Regions from separate parts of the Homo sapiens genome. Here region 1 is linked to region 2. Evidence: promoter capture Hi-C in human tissues and cell types (Jung and others, 2019). All regions are on one chromosome and are shown on one strand. The core of a region is centred on a gene start or on the middle of the fragment in contact, and the rest is flanking DNA. Distances in the headings are between cores, read along the strand shown. Region 1 overlaps BUB1B (BUB1 mitotic checkpoint serine/threonine kinase B). Region 2 holds the start of BAHD1 (bromo adjacent homology domain containing 1).

Region 1 (5,243 bases), core at 1,424-3,923, 230 kb before region 2:
TTCATTTTTTTTAGGAAATCTCTGCTGATACTTTCTGGCCTGCTCCAATCTGGACAAGTTATACATTAGCTTTCACACAATCACCACACACAATCACCTTGGAATTTCCATTTATTATCATCCTAGGTATTCACATTACCTTTGTCTTATATTGGATACCTAGTTTCTTTTTATCTTTGTTTTTTAAAGGACACGGTCTCTGTCATCCAGGCTGGAGTACAGTAGCATGATCACGGCTCACTGCAGCCTCAACCTCTTGAGCTCAAGCAATCCTCCCACCTCAGCCTCTGGAATAGCTGGGACCGTAGGTGCACGCCACCACTCCCAGCTAATTATTTTTTGTAGAGACGGGGGCCTCTCTGTGTTGCCTAGGCTGGTCTTGAATTCATGGCTCAAGCAGTCCTCCCACCTTGGCCTCCCAAAGAACTGGATTACAGGCATCTAACTTTGCTTTTGAATTTTTTTGCCATTCTGAGTCTCAAAGCTTTGTGTGAAGTTATTTTTCCTTCTTTCTGGATCCTTATAGGATCTTATTCTTGTCCCCACTATTCTGAAATGTCACAATTACATGCCTTTTCATAAGTTTGTTGTCACTTATGTGCTAGGTACTCAATGGCCATTTCAATCTGTTAATTCCCTCAGTTCTGAGAAATTTTCTTCAATGGGAAAATTATTTTTCCCCTCAGTTTTCTCTGTTCTCTTATTCTCTAATTCCTTTTATTAGAGGTGTATATGGCATCTTTGGACAGAACCTCTAAAAATTTAACTTTTTTTCTCCTATATTCTCTCTTTGTCTTTTTACTTTACTTTCTGAGTATATTATCAGCTTAATATTTTTGGTCTTTTTACTAGGTTTTTATTTCTATATTTAATTTTCAAGAGCTCTTTTTAAAATTTTTTACCCCTTTGTCATCTGTTTCTTCTTGTTTTCTTTTTTGTCTGTTTTGATCTCTCTCACACTACAGGCTTTCTTCAAGTCTTTGGCTCTCTATTCGTATTTAAGTATGGGACATTGAAAGCTCTGTGTATATGGAAAGACCTTGACAGCTGTGGACCTCAATGTAGGATGATCTAGTTTGGCCATTTTATTGGAAAACCCTCCAATCTTTAGATCCTTTCTCTTGACCTGATCATAGAAGTCTTCTCCCTCAGAGAAGACTTCTAATTTTCTGCCTGGAGCATATAAGCCTGGCTGCTAGCTTTCTGAAATCTGAGTGAGGAAATTGGTCTGAAGAATAGAAGAGCAGGGAGGTGCATCTTAACTGCTGCATATATAACATCTGATATATATACTTTTTCCTGTTTTCTATGTTATTTCTACCCCCCTCAGTGGTGCCTAGTGCCCTCTAGTCCAGAGCCCTTCTGTTTTATACTCACTAGGTAATAAACTTCTGGACTTCGAGAATAGGGGAGAGGTAGTTGCTGGGCTGGGCTATGGGAGCAGAGGAGGGAAGCTGGGGTCTACCTTCCTGTTTTTTTGTTTTTTTTTTTCTTCGAGACGGAGTTTTGCTCTTGTCACCCTGGCTGGAGTGCAATGGCATGATTTTGGCTCACTGCAACCTCTGCCTCCCAGGGTCAAGCGATTCTCCTGTCTCAGCCTCCCGCGTAGCTGGGATTACAGGCACCCGCCACCAAAAGCCTAGCTAATTTTTTGTATTTTTAGCAGAGACGGGGTTTCACCCCTTCATAATCATTGGTCAGGCTGGTCTTGAACCCCTGATGTCAGGTAATCCACACGCCTCAGCCTCCCAGAGTGCTGGGATTACAGGCATGAGCCACTGCACTAGGCCTACCTTCCTCTTAAATGGGATTCAATCACTCCTGTCTTAGCTCCACCCTCAGCCTCACTTCCATGGGTAATTGGTGCTGCCAGTTATATAGTATAGGAAAATAGCCTTGTAGTGTAAATGTAGCTCAGCTTTCTCCTCTGCCAAAATCAGTTTTTATTCTAATTGGATTGTTACCTCCTGTTCTCTTTCCAGCTTATCCTCTTTCCAGAATTTGTTGTTATTGTGTCTTTTATAGTAGATTTATGCCTTTAAAAATATCTCTTTATTATTTCTCTATCAGAAGGGCTGGAAGGAATGTGTTTCAACCTGCCAGCCATAACCATAGACTTAACTGAACTTATTTTTAAAATACAATGTCTTACAGGTATCTTCTCAACCTGTCCCATGGGACTTTTATATCAACCTCAAGTTAAAGGAACGTTTAAATGAAGATTTTGATCATTTTTGCAGCTGTTATCAATATCAAGATGGCTGTATTGTTTGGCACCAATATATAAACTGCTTCACCCTTCAGGTCTGTAATACTAAAAACATAATTTAAAGTCCTGAAGTAGAGAGATTTGTGCTCCATTTAGCAAAGGAATTTAGTACAAAATTCCTGTCAATCTTCTAGAAATAGACCAATTCAAGTATAAGTTAGAAGCATTGATAATTTTCTCGTTATTTTGACCAAAGATCTCTTTGGTATTTTTTTAACTTTTTTTGGTCCGTTGTCAAGCATAAATAAAAGTAGAATTGTACAATGAACTCCCATGAACTAGTCATCTATGATAATCTTAGCTCATGGTCACTCTTGTTTTAGCTATACTACCCCCACTGGATAGTTTTTAAAACCCAGACACAATATGTCATTTTACTCTTCGGTTTGTTCTTAAGAAGGTTTGCTATGGATTTTGATGATAATATGAATTCTCAAAAATGGTTGGAATGAGGGTATTTTAAATCCATTTATTAAGTACCTATTTTGGGCCAGGCTCATGCTTGATGCCCTTCATCATTATGTCATTAAATCCTTACAAACAATCTTATGGGAGATGGCAGTGTTATTAAAACTGGGACATAGACTCAGTCTACAGAGGTGCCTACGTTCCAGTAGAGAACAAGGAAGACTACAAACCATCAGTTTTCAAGGTATTGAGTATAACTACGATCTGCCAAACTTGAGAAATAGTGAGTTTTCTGTCCTTCAATTTCCAGGATCTTCTCCAACACAGTGAATATATTACCCATGAAATAACAGTGTTGATTATTTATAACCTTTTGACAATAGTGGAGATGCTACACAAAGCAGAAATAGTCCATGGTGACTTGAGTCCAAGGTGTCTGATTCTCAGAAACAGGTTGGTCCTTTTCATTCTTATAATTCTGCCAGCTGTCTCTTAAAACATGGATAGTTGCCACTTTTTTTTTTCTTTTTTGAGGCGAGGGTCTCACTCTGTCACCTAGGTTGGAGTACAGTGGCATGATCTTGGCTCACTGCAGCCTCCATCTCCCAGGTTCAAACGATTCTCCCATCTTAACCTTGCTAGTAGCTGGGACCACAGGCGCGCACCACCACACCTGGCTAATTTTTTGTATTTTTTGGTAGAGATGAGGTTTCACCATGTTGCCCAGGCTGGTCTCAAACTCCTGGCCTCAAGTGATCTGCCCACCTCAGCCTCCCAAAGTGCTGGGATTATAGGCGTGAGCCACTGCACCCGGCCAAGTTGCCAATTTTTAAAGCCTTTTGATAAATGCCATATCGAGGAACATATTATGTTAAGAGAGTATTTACCTAAAAGTCAAAAATCATTAAGAATAGTTTAAAATAATTCAAAGAAATAAACACATTGAGGAAATAGATTAAATCAGATAAAAGAATTAATCACTGAGTATTGTGATGATATATGTCAAGATGAGATATAAAATATGAATATTTTGAGGAATATAAAGTGGATTGTTTAGTCATTCTTTGAGTGGGACCAGTGCCACTCTAGCGAGGATGCCAGCAAAATCAAGGCACTACTCAGTTTCATAGACCAAAGCTTAAGTCAGGCCTAACTGACCTGTTAGCCAAGAGAAGTGGGTAAAACCAGAGTTCAAATACAAACTATGCCAAGGAATGGGGTTTAGTGTTCAAATTAAACCCAGTGTGTCCATCAGGTTCAAGGGGTGAGCACAGAGCAGGAAATAATAAATGAATACTAAGGACTGAGAAAATATAGATCACGTTCAGGCATTAACTAGGCAAAAACAGTCCAACATTTTTGCTTTGTGAAAAGTACTAGAGGACTACTATATTCTTTTAGTGATCATTGGTGTTATAGTATTTGAGTAAAAGCAGCCTGGTTTAAAGATGCTGTGTCTGCCCAACCCTGTGTCTTGGGTGAGGTGTTAACTTTGTTTCTGAGGCCACTGGTATACACTAATAGCTGGACTTACTCTTTACATTTCTTCTGAATACTTAATCTATCAGAAGAGATTGAATTAGACTCTAAATTATAGTTAACGTGGAAATTAAAAGAACCCTCAATGTGTTCCTGTGATTGTAACCAAAAGAACCAGAGAATCCCACCTTCTCCCCTGAGATAGCAGAGTCAAAGGCTTTCCCAGACATAATGTAGCAGCATTTCTCATCCAGGGCACCATAGGTATTTTGGGTGAGACAATTCTTTGTGCAGGTGTGTTCCAAGCAATGCAGGATGTTTTATATTCCTATTCCCCCCCACCCACCCAATTAAGTGCAAGTAACAATCCCCTAAGCCGTTGTGACCACCAAAAATCCCCCCAAATTTCCAAGTATGAGAACCCCTGGTATATTTTCACTCTACTTAACATTAAAATGACAGTGCTGAAATTCCCAGGGCTATGGAAATTGGAAGCAGAGGTTTTTTCTAAGCCTTTTAGAATTGGCCATTTGTGGTCTAATGAAGTACGATAACCCTTCTCTCAGCCACTAGAGGCTCTAGGAAAGTCCATAGTATTAAAGAGGCATTGCTTTTTACTTTGTCACTGCTTATCAAATTTAATCAGAAATTTCACATAGATTCATAAGGAATTAAAAGCCAGAAAGGGGCCGAGCACAGTGGCTCATGCCTATAATCAATCCCAGCACTTTTGGAGGCTGAGGCGGGCAGATCACCTGAGGTTGGGAGTTCAAGACCAGCCTGACCAACATGGAGAAACCCCATCCTACTAAAAATACAAAATTAGCCAGGTATGGTGGTGCATGCCTGTAATCCCAGCTACTTGGGAGGCTGAGGAAGGAGAATTGCTTGAACTCAGGAGGCAGAGGTTGTGGTGAACTGAGATCGCACCATTGTACTCCAGTCTGGGCAACAAGAGCAAAATTCTGTCTCAAAAAAAAAGCCAGAGGCCGGGCGCAGTAGCTCACGCCTGTAATCCCAGCATTTTGGGAGGCCGAGGCGGGCGGATCACGAGGTCAGGAGATCAAGACCATCCTGGCTAACACAG
Region 2 (5,813 bases), core at 178-2,677:
GCTTGCCTGGGCAGCCTCAGCACTCTGGGTGCCTCTCTCTGCCCAAGGCGTTCCTGGGGCCCAGCCCCTCCCTGGGCTGCTCCAGCGCTCTGGTGACTTGACACTACCCTTTCTGCCGCTGCTCCTTTTACCTCCTAAAGCTCCCCTCCCCCGCCTGAATTGGGAATGAGGCTTTGTTCAGGGGTGAACTCAGCATTTCTCGAGAACCTACTGTGTGCATATCCCGGGCTTAGTGAAGTCCTAGGCGGGCTCTGGCACCACCAGGTGCCCAAGACACAGCTCCTTCCCGCACCTAACAGGGACTTCCCATCTCTCTCTGTGCCCTTAGCCTGCTGTGCCCACCCACCCCACTGACCCCGCGAGCGTGCTCGGGCTTGGGAGGGCACGTCTGTGGGGGTGAGAGACGGAGCCACAGCATTTGGTGACTAGGGGGAAGCCAGGTAAGTGTCTACACTTGGTTCTCCCGTAGCTTGGGGACGCGAGGGAGGGAGTCCAGCCGCTCCTGTCAGGCTGCCCGCCCCTTTCTCCCTCCCCCGGAGAGCTCTGATGTTCCCCGCGGTGGTGGAAGAGGGTGTGTGGGTGTCAAGGACTCACAGACCAGGCTCTGCTGTCAGCTGGAAATGGATGAGGGCTCCACACTCTGCTTCTGAAGAGGGTGAATTAGGAGCTGGGGTTGGGGGCGGTAGGTGAAGGGCAGAAAGAGGAAAAAGAGATGCGGGTGAGGGGTTACCGAGCCAGGACCGACCTTGCTGGAAAGGAAAGGAGACGTGGCAGGCAGGGAAGTCGGAAAGATGAGGCAAGGGCGGGAGGGGCTTCTCAGCAGTCGGGGCCCTTTTGCAGGAGTCTGGGGCCCTTTCTGCAGGAAAGGGGGGTTGTTCTCGCTTGATTTTCGGCTGGTCTTCCTGAAGCTTTGCCCTGGGGGCAGCAGCCTCCGGCGAGGATGGGGTGTTCCTCGGCCCGCAGTTTTCTCCAGCGCGTGCTGGGGAGGATTTGGGGGAAAGGGGATGCGGAGGGGTGATGGCCAGGGCGGGGGGAGATAAGATTTTTCCGGGGGGGCTAGCAGCTGGGAGATTGGGGTCGAGTCACCGTGGGATACGGGCTCAGGTTCTGAAGACGAAGAGAAAAATCCAAGAAGCCGGCAAAGAAAATCACCCCTTGCCACCACCCTTGGCACGGCACCCCTCCCCCAAGGCCCCACCACTCCCCGCACCGCCTCCCCCGGCCGCCTCGTGCTGCCCCCTGCGTTGGGACGACCGACCCACGGTTCTGATTGGTCAGAGACCGGGAGGGGGAGCCGAGGGCCGGATTGGCTGGCGGAGCCAGCGCAGGGCGGGGCGGCTGATTGGCGGAGCTGGCCGAGGGGCGCGCTGCTGATTGGCTGGGGACGAGGAAGCAGGAAGGAGGGCGGCGGAGGCTCCGCTCTCGGGGAGTTTGTGGGGGAACCGCGAGCGGCGTAGCGGATCCCGGAGCCCGGCCCCCGCCGCCCGCCCGTCCGGCTGCCTGCCCCGCCCGTCCGGCCCCCGCCGTCCGCCCGCCCCGGCCAGGCGCGCCCGCCCCCCCCGACGGCCCCGCCCGGCCGCGGTCCCCGCTCCGCCCGCCCGGCCCCGGCCCCCAGGAGGAGGCGCTGACGCAGCAGCGTGGAGCCCGGGAATTGAGCGCCCCCGGGGGGTTCCAGCCGCCGGATTCCAGCCCGGCCGGGGCCTGCGGGCGCCCAGAGCCGCGCCGTCCGCGCCGCCCGTTCTGGTGAGTCAGGGGCCGGGGTCGAGGAGGGGGAAGGGGCGAGCTGGAGGGAGGGAGCGAGCGAGGTAGGCAGAAGAGCGAAGGGGGAGAGCACCGGCCGCCCGTCAGCGCGCCCCACCGAGCGCGCCGCGCCACCGCCCCCGCCAGCCCGGGAAGGGACGGACGGACGGACGACGCGAAGCAGGTGCGGCCGCCCGCCCGCTCGCGCCACCTCCCTCCCCTGGGTCCGGCACCACGGTCCCGCCATCGGGGAACGCGGCGCGCCTCGAGGTGACAGCCCCCGGGGGCCGCCCGCCTTGCAGGCCGGGGGCGGGGTGGGTGGCGGCCGCAGGGTGGCAGCTCGGCCGGGCGGCGGCGGCGCGGGCGTCCCGAGCTGCGGAGGGCGGGAGGACGCCGGTCTTTCCTCGCCGCGGCGGAGCCGGCTCGCCTCCGAGTGCGCGGGCGGCGAGGCCCCCGCCGCGCCCCCTCCCCCATCGCGGTCCCCGAGGCAAGGGGCCGCGGCCGGGGGCGGCGCCGCGGGATCGCCCGCTCAGGGTGGGGGGCGCCCTCCCGCGCTGGGAGCTGACCGGTTATTGCTGGATGGGGGGCAGGGGATGAGGGCCGCGCCGGGCCGGGGGCGGCAGGGGGGAGTAGTGTAGACCCGACTCGATCGGGCTGAGAGGAAGGGAGGCGCCGAAGACGGAAGGGGACCGGTTCGAAAAGCGAGTGTGGGCCGCGGGAGGCCCTGCGGGGACCTTGCGGGGCGGCGGCCGAGTCCGAGGTGTGGCGGGGGGAATCGAAGTTGTCAGACCGCCTCCAAGTGACAGCGGGACCCTGTGCTCGCGGCCCGGCCTGGTCTTGCCCTGCTCGCTCCGCCGCCTCTCTTCTGGGGCTGGGGGCCGGGTCAGGTCGGGCCCGAGGGGCTCGCTTGGCGGTGAAGCGCCGGACAAAGGCGGCGCCGGAGCGGGCGCAGGTGGTGGCGTCGGGGAGGGGAGCGGGTCCGAGGCACCCACTCCGAGGGGCGGGCGACGGGGCCGGACTCTGCCCCGGGGACTGCGGGGGCCGGGGCGCCCGCCGGGAGGAGCTGCGGCACTGGCTTGCCGCTCTAGCCGCTCGCTGTTGGCCTCGAGGCTCTGGGAAGTGGGGTCTACTTGCCGGGGGCCGAGGGGCCGGGGTGGGGGTGTATGCTCATGATGTGCCTTGGCTGGTGGCGACGGGGTTGCTACTCACCGAGGCGACAGACCCAGTGAGCCGCTGTAGAGCCTGTCAAGAATGAGGGGTTTTTCAACAAGCAGAGTCTGCCTACAGGCAGAAGTCTAACCCCACCTGGGACATCTCCTAGTCGCCCATTGTCGACAGTGTTAGAAGTGCAGAAGACTAGTTTGATTAGGACAAGAGACACCCCACCCCGTGGGCTCCCGCCAGCCCTCCGCAGCTGCCTCCAGCACTTTTCCTTAGCCACAAAGGTACCCACTTAGAAAAATGAGAAGCTGAGTTTATAAATCCAGGCAGGAATTTAATAATGAAATAAAAAGCTTTCCAGTCCTTTTACTTTGTGCCACCTGAGACTTTCCTCCCTACTCTCTTCACCTCGCTGTCTTCCACAAAAAAAAAGAAAAAGGGCCCAGAGGGACCACATGTCTTGGAGGGGCACCACTGTCCTTGGCCAGCTTGGAGGATGCTTAGGAACCACTGGCTTAAGCTGTGAGTGCCTCCATCTCCCCCGGTGACCAGCTGTGAGCTGGATGTTGTTTACCTGCTTGGAAAAACTCATTCAGAGCTCCCATGCCCTCCATGTGAACCCCACACCCAAAAGAAGAGTTGGGATCATAAGGACAGGGAAACTCAGGCTGTTTCAGAATGTGGATTTTGCTGAGAATCTGAGTTCGAGTCCCACCTCAGGTAGGGCTGGTTAGAAGCCGCTCTCAACTGTGGTTGGCTGTAATCCCACCTGGGAAAGCTGCTTGTCTGCCACTTCAGAGGGTAGCATGGGCATGGGAGTTTATTCATGGCCACCCCCCATGGACCTCCCTGGAATGATCTAGACCCCAGCCTGGATGGAGCTGAGGCTTGTGAGAAAGGTAGGTATTACCTCACTCAGGAGGCTAAAGTTTGTTCTGAGATAATTTAATTGCATGTCTAAAATCCAGAGAGTGATGATGAATCTCAAGGCCTTTGTGCCTTCTGTGAGGCTACACGGCATGTGATTTCTTTTGGTGGCAGTCAGAAGGGGATGACGTGGTCTGGCCACTGGAATATGAAGGGGAGTTGCCCAAATAGCATTTCCCTCTTTGGTAGGGCTCTTACCTGGCAGGAGACTCATGCCAGTCGGATCTGGTGTTAAGGAGGGTTTGCTCCGGAGAGTTTAGCCAGTGATTAGGTTCTTTTTGATATCTCCCTCTCTTTCTTCCTTTCTGTTGTCCTGCTGTCCCCGTGTCAGGCCTGTGTTGTTGTTATAGCCTCCCTTTCCCTCCTGCTTCCTTTGGCCCTTCTGATCCAGTCTGTATGCAGCTACCAGGTCATTCTTCCTAAAACACCCCTTCCCGGTGTCACTCCCTTTCTCACAGACTTGCAATGGCTCCCCGTTCCCTGCAGTCTGACCCTAGACAGTGTCCCCTCCAGCTCTTCCCTAGCCATACCATGCACATTTTTTCTTCCTGCATCTTCACTGCTGCCGCTCCCCTTCCTTTACTCCCACTTGAATCCCACTTGTCCTTAGTCTGGTTGTTGCTCAGACCACTCCAGGCCAACATAGTCATCCCCGCCTGAGCTCATGACTCTGGATTTTCTAACGTGGTATCCTCTTGAGTGGTTTTGTAGGTTGGAAATTTCTTAAGGACAGGAACAATATGAGTGTTAAACCTCTGTGTGTGTGTGTGTGTGTGTGAATATTCTGGTATTTCTTGTACAGTGCTGTGCACATCATTTTTGTTGAGTGAATAAATGTGGTTGGTTGCTGAGTTAGGCAGGAACAAGGGGGAGACCTTCCTTTCAGCTTCTCCAGAAATGCTCATATTGGAGTCCTTGGAGATTTCCAGCCCTTTCTGTCAAAGGCATATGGATAGGGCATGTTTGGGGTGCTGTAAATGGGAAATTTAACTGCTGTTTCTAATATTTCTGCTGGTGAAGAGTCCTATGGATTGCTTATGTGATACCATATAGACATTGGAAAAGGGCTGTAATCCTGTTTTCCTCCTACCTCACCGGACCACCATTCTTTCTACCCAGCTTTGCTGCTCTTATGCAGTTTTCCTTGTTGTTCATGCTAAATGAATCCATGTTTTATCTCTTCTCAAACCGGGTGCAAATGAGGGAGAAAACACAATTCTGAGCACAGAAAAGAAAAATACTCCTGGGTCTGGCCCATAGATGGGACTTTTGGGGCTGGTTTGGAAGAGGTGTTTATGGGGGCATCACCAACATAAGAGGCACAATCAGCCCCACATTGGACCCCTCATAAAGGAAAGCTACAATCCCTGCTCTCTCAGGCTTCTGTTTTGGTTCACCATCAACCCTGGACCATGGGGGAAACGGGAAAGAGGACTGGTGACTGGTTAGAGGCCAGATAGTGAAAAAATATATTCTGCATCCATCCCCTTTCCCCCAAACCTCCCTTTTGTGCCCCAGTTTGATGATTAATGGACCAGCATTTCCCTTCTACGCGGGAAGGCCACCCCTCACAGTTGCCATGGCAATGCAGACCGCTCCCCCGTCAATTAAAAAAAAAATCCCTACTACTTCTCTCCTCCTTCTACTGTAGCAGGAGAAAAGCTACCTCAGAATGCATCTCCTGGGCTCTCTTCTCAGCTCCTTTAGCTGTGTTTGCTGTGTGTCCTAGAACACAGTCCTTCCTCTCTTTCTGGGGATTGCCTGAGTTTCTTCACTCTGAGCAAATTGTGCCCCTTCTGGAGCCAGCAGCCCCTGGAACACTTATATCAAGAAACAGAGAAAATTTCTGTTTATTTATTCATCCCCGGTGCAAATTAAAAACTAGAGAGAGCTCCTTTTGGGTAAAAAAAAAAAAAAAAAAAACAACCCTTTCACACCTTCTCTGGTTAGAGGTATAAGTTGGGGCACATTTGACATCCAGAAAG

Evidence for each region. Contacts are between HindIII fragments. The study calls those that stand out against the background at their distance.
Region 1: a contact is called between a fragment that was not itself captured here and the fragment with the promoter of BAHD1 in region 2, in 2 of the 25 tissues and cell types used here (IMR-90 fibroblasts and small bowel).

What each region holds. Positions count from the first base shown.
Region 1 is chr15:40,210,345-40,215,587 of GRCh38, forward strand. It overlaps BUB1B (BUB1 mitotic checkpoint serine/threonine kinase B), which reads left to right. Exons shown (of 23, transcript NM_001211.6): 19 at 2,155-2,304; 20 at 2,988-3,130. The region is part of intron 1 of LOC107984763 (a long non-coding RNA gene); the gene reads right to left. Among named protein-coding and RNA genes, the nearest start is that of BUB1B-PAK6, 4.5 kb to the right of the region's middle. The HindIII fragment of the contact is 5,363 bases long and covers 1-5,243 here.
Region 2 is chr15:40,439,526-40,445,338 of GRCh38, forward strand. It overlaps BAHD1 (bromo adjacent homology domain containing 1), which reads left to right and starts at 1,428. Exons shown (of 7, transcript NM_014952.5): 1 at 1,428-1,743. RefSeq lists enhancers at 134-671, 1,477-1,978, 1,979-2,478 and silencers at 1,134-1,803, 1,230-1,415, 1,864-1,923, 2,644-2,763, 2,784-2,853. The HindIII fragment of the contact is 6,344 bases long and covers 1-2,081 here.